Regions from separate parts of the Homo sapiens genome. Here region 2 is linked to region 1. The links are contacts of gene promoters, found by promoter capture Hi-C in human tissues and cell types (Jung and others, 2019). All regions are on one chromosome and are shown on one strand. Each heading gives the region's core, a stretch centred on a gene start or on the middle of the fragment in contact. The rest is flanking DNA. Distances are from core to core; before and after follow the strand shown.

Region 1 (2,619 bases), core at 53-2,552:
GATGTAAATTGAGGGTTTGGGCTTAGGAGATATTGACAAATAGAAGGTATTGGAAGCTAAGGAATCCAATGAGGTCATCTGAGCTCGATTTAGGGAAATGAGAGAGGAGGAGGAGCCCACACAAGAGACCAAAAAAGAAGGGCCCAGAGGGAGAGGAAGAAAGTCAGGTGCCAGGTGGAGAGCAGGAAGGTCACTCACATCAAATGCTGCAGAGAAGCCAAGTCAGCTGTGATGGGACTTGGCTTTAAGCTTTGGCAAGATGTGGAAGCTTTTCCCTACCCTTGAGAACTGCTCTGTCAGGGGGGCAAAAAAAGAGAGTCTGAGAGCAAAACTCCATCTCAAAAAAAAGAAAAAAAGAAAAAGAAAAAAGAAAGTGTGGGTATAGGGGATGGAAGGCAGAATGGGAAGCGAGGAACCGGAGGTGGCCAGGCAGACAAAGCTGTAATGAGATCTGCTCTGTAGGGCGTTAAGCAGAGAAGGATGTGAGGCCGGGCGTTTGATCAACGGGATATATTACAGCTGTCTCTATGTCAATACGAATGATCCAGTTGAAAGGGAGAAGATGACAATACAGAAGGAGGTGGGGAATTTGAGGAGCAAAGTGCTTATGAAAGGAAGAGGAGGGGGTGGGGGTACATGGGTAAGGGGCTCAGGGTGGGGAAGATGACATCTACTCTGGTTACTACTGATAGGGTGAGGCCACTAGTTAGAATTAAAACGATATGCAAAAGACATGTTCAAGGGCCGTGCGCGGTGGCTCACGCCTGTAATCTCAGCACTTTGGGAGGCCGAGGCAGGCAGATCACTTGAGGTCAGGGGTTTGAGACCAGCCTGGCCAACATGGTGAAATCCCATCTCTACTAAAAATACAAAAATTAGCTGGGCATGGTGGTGCGTGCCTGTAATCCCAGCTACTCCAGAGGCTGAGGCAGGAGACTCGCTTAAAAGCAGGAGGTGGAGGTTGCAGTGAGCCAAGATCATGCCCCTGCACTCCAGCCTGGGCCACAGAGCAAGACTCCGTCTCGGAAAAAAAAAAAAAAAAAAAAGAGTGTCTATAACAGCTCTATTCATAGCAGTCAAAACCTGCAATGAGTCTGATGTCAGAAAAATGGATGCTAAATTGTAGCATATTCATATAACAGAAAATACACAGCAGTGAAAAAGAATTCCTGCTACTCACAGCAGCATGGATGACTCACATGGGCATGATGTTGGCTAAAAGAAGCCAGACACAAAAGAGCACGGGCCGTGTGATACCTCTTCCATGAAGTTCTAGAACAGGCAAAACTCATCTATGGCAGGAAAAGCTAGAATGATGGTTGCCTGGGCGAGGCGTGGGGAGGCATATTGTAGAAGCATGAGAGAGCCTTTCAGGGTAAGTGGCACAGTGGGAATGTTCTAGATGTGGATCTGGGGCACTGTTACATGGATGGTTTTTTTTAATTCACTGACTGTATACTTTACTATGCTTGTACATTTTACAATACTTATGTTATACCCCAGTTTAAGTTAAAGGCTTAAGAGAAGGGTGAGGAATTCTCACAAGAGTTCTCCAAGTTAAGTATTCATATCCTCAGTTTGCAAAAAAGGAAATCAAGGCTGAAGAATGGAAACTGGATTCATAACCAAGTCTCTCTGCCCAAACACCTGCACTCTTCCCAGGAGCTTTACGCTTAAGAGTTGAGTGTGTTGCGGCCGGGCACAGTGGCTCACGCCTGTAATCCCAGCACTGTGGGAGGCCAAGGAAGGCGGATCACGAGGTCAGGAGATCGAGACCATCCTGGCTAACACAGTGAAACCCCGTCTCTACTAAAAATACAAAAAATTAGCCAGGGGTGGTGCCAGGTGCCTGTAGTCCCAGCTACTCAGGAGCCTGAGGCAGGAGAACGGCGTGAACCCGGAGGCAGAGCTTGCAGTGAGCCGAGATCGCGCCACTACACTCCAGCCTGGGCGACAGAGCGAGACTCTGTCAAAAAAAAAAAAAAAAAAAAAAAAAAAGAGTTGAGTGTGTTGCATACAAAGTCACGGCATAAAAAACACATCAAAACAGAGCTTCGTCCTCAGATGCCACCTTGGTCCCTCTACAGCAGCGGTCCCCAACCTTTTTAGCACCAGGGACTGGTTTTGTGGAAGACAATTTTTCCATGGACTCGGCAGTGGGGAGGGATGGTTTCGGGATGATTCAAGCACATGACATTTATTGTGTACTTTATTTCTATTATTATTACATTGTAATATATAATGAAATAATCATACAACTGACGATAATGCAGAATCAGTAGGAGCCCTGAGCTTGTTTTCCTGCAACTAGATGGTCCCTTCTGGGGTGACGGGTGACAGTGACAGATCATCAGGCATTAGATTCTCATAAGGAGTGATATGGTTTGGCTCTGTATCCCCACCCAAATCTCATGTCAAACTGTAATCCCCATGTGTCAGGGGAGGGACTATATGGGAGGTGACTGAATCATGAGCGAGATTTCCCTCATGCTGTTCTCATGATAATGAGTGAGTTCTCACAAGATCTGATGGTTTAGAAGTGTGGCACTCCGGACATGGTGGCTCATGTCTGTAATCCCAGCACTTTGGGAGGCTGAGGCAGGTGGATCTCCCGAGGTC
Region 2 (2,619 bases), core at 53-2,552, 76 kb after region 1:
CCAGCCTGGGTGACCAGAGCAAAACTCCGTCTCAAAAAATAATAATAAAACAATGTGCTGGACTACTGCAATACTGAGATCCTTCTCAGCCAAGTGTTTACAGGTGTTAGAGCGGCAACAGGAATTTCTGGAGTACAAGCTAATCTCTGTGGGAATGGAAAAAAAAAAGCACTAATTTGAATTTCAGTACCTATGTTGCAATGCTAAATTCTTGACAGGGATTAGTACTCCGTAGGTTATGCTTCTTAAATCTCCAAAAGTAAGCCAATATGTGAAATCGTACATTTTTGGTCCGTTATTCTAAGACTGACAAAACGTTCCATTGCTTCGTATTTGAATTTGAGAACTGAGACTCATTTAAAAATTCTTCACTGTTCTTTTCCTTTTTGCTCTTCGATTTCGCAAGTGAAACGGTCATTTCAACAGCACACACATTACACTAGAATAAAGCCAAGTAAAATGACAGACTAAATCAGATCCGTGAATACACGGTGACTCCTTATTTGGTTTTTAATACTTTCACTATGTTTCATGTCTTCGGGAAAGCAAAAGAACAACGTACTGTGCCAAAAGCACTAACTTACGAAAAACCAATTTAGACCAATTCTTTACAGCGTTAAGTATGGGTTGAAAACCAACTTTCCTAATACTTGTGGTCAGTGCCTCAAGGTCGTTAGGATAAAAATAAAGCTTCCAAGACACTTCGCAGCCTTCCAGCACTTCCAGAAAGGCCAAATAAACCAGCATTCACCTTCCCGCTCCATCCAGGCCCCGATTCTCCGACCAGAGAGGGCGCTGAGTGCCCGGGCACGGAGGGGCAGCGCCCTGGGGCGCCCGGCTCTGCCCAGGGCGGGGCTCGGCGGGGCCGAAGCTCCGGACGCCGCCCACGGGGACCACCGGCCCTTGGGCCGCCCAGGGGCAGCTGCAGCCCAGGGGAGGAGCTGGAGGAGCCCCCGGCGGCACCAGGGCCCGAGCCCTGACGGCGGCCGCCCCCGGCCGAAAAGTAAGGAAGGTGCCGCCCTCGCTGGACCAGCTGGGCCCGAAGAGGGGCCCCCCCACCACAAATTCGGAAACCGAGTGACCCCGGCGAGGGACGCGCGGTCCCAGCCCCGGGACGAGGAAGGGCGGCGGCGCGGGCGGGGGTTCTTTTCAGAACTACAGCAGGGAAGGCGGCGGGGGTGGCCGCGGGGCGATCCAGGGAAAATCGGCGCCTCACCTGCTCCTCTTGAGGCAGCTGCTGCCACTCGCTGAGGGGACAACATGGAGCCTCCGCCTTCAAAGCAGAAGCAGCAGGGGTGCAGAGGAGAGGGACGGGTGCGGGCGGGAACGAACCGGGCCCTGGAAGCGGGAAACGGGCGGAGCCTGGGCTCTAGAAAAAACTAGCCAGAAGGTGGGGCACGCGGAGCCGCGACGGAGCGAGCGCAGCGCGGTCTGCGTGGCCCAACGGACAGCCCGAGGCGTGGCGAGCGCAGGACGAGGCTAGGCGAGGCGGGGCGGGAAAGCGCACGCGGCAGAATCCCGCCACCGCCTGCCGCGTGTGCGCGAAGCGAGCCGCCGGGTACCTGTTGGCGGGGCGCTGAGTGCTACCGTCCTTTGGGAATTGTAGTCCCGCGCTCACTGGGTCCCGGCCAGCGGTCCTCATACTGCGCACTCATCTGGGGCGGGGCTTGGCGTGGTTCTCCGACGACTGAACTACAACTCCCAGCAGGCTGTGCGGGAAGGGGCGGGCTGGCTCGGGTCCTCCTGCGAGCTGCGGCCGGCGCCTAACGTGCAGACCAGGCCCCAGGCCGAGGCTTTATCCTGGAACCACCAGTGTGAGAGACAGCTTTGGTGTTTAACTAGGCCTGGGACCACAGGTGGGCAGAAGAGAGGCCTCAACCCTGGATGGCATGAACGTCACTGGGTCTTTAATGATTTTGACTTCATAAGGGCAGGTGGCCGTGACTTCATTACCACCTTTATTATCATCTCCCTATATTCCTGTCCCTGGCCATGGCTGATGCGCACCATCACCGCTCTGATAGCTAATGTAAGAAGTCCAGGCCGGGCGCCGTGCCTCACGCCTGTAATCCCAGCACTTTGGGAGGCCGAGGCGGGTGGATCACCTGAGGTCGTGGGCGTTCGAGACCAGCCTGACCAACATGGAGAATCCCCGTCTCTACTAAAAATACGAAATTAGCCAGGCGTAGTGGCGCACGCTTGTAATCCCAGCTAGTCCAGAGGCTGAACAGGAGAATCGCTTGAACCCAGGAGGCGGAGGTTGCAGTGAGCCGAGATCGCACCATTGCACACCAGCGTAGGCAACAGGAGCAAAACTCCATCAAAAAAAAAAAAAAAAAACTTGCACGCACATCCCAGCATTCTCTGCTCCTTTTCCCTGCATTACTTTTCTCCAAAAGACTTCATACCACTTGGCCAGGCGCGGTGGCTCACGCCTGTAATCCCAGCACTTTGGGAGGCTGAGGTGGTTGGATCACCTGAGGTCGGGAGTTCAAGACCAGCCAGGCTAACATGGTGAAACCCCATCTCTTCTAAAAATACAAAAAATTAACCAGGCGTGGTGGCAGGCGCCTGTAATCCCAGCTACTCGGGAGGCTGAGGCAGGAGAGGTTGCATTGA

What was found. Contacts are between HindIII fragments. The study calls those that stand out against the background at their distance.
Region 2: a contact is called between the fragment with the promoter of ATL3 here and a fragment that was not itself captured in region 1, in 2 of the 25 tissues and cell types used here (bladder and pancreas).

What each region holds. Positions count from the first base shown.
Region 1 is chr11:63,594,267-63,596,885 of GRCh38, forward strand. The region is part of intron 3 of PLAAT3 (phospholipase A and acyltransferase 3); the gene reads right to left. Among named protein-coding and RNA genes, the nearest start is that of PLAAT3, 19 kb to the right of the region's middle. The HindIII fragment of the contact is 6,558 bases long and covers 1-2,619 here.
Region 2 is chr11:63,670,074-63,672,692 of GRCh38, forward strand. It overlaps ATL3 (atlastin GTPase 3), which reads right to left and starts at 1,303. Exons shown (of 13, transcript NM_015459.5): 1 at 1,217-1,303. The coding sequence starts at 1,262. RefSeq lists enhancers at 668-1,169, 1,170-1,669, 1,710-1,819 and silencers at 830-1,089, 1,120-1,179, 1,500-1,619. The HindIII fragment of the contact is 6,643 bases long and covers 1-2,619 here.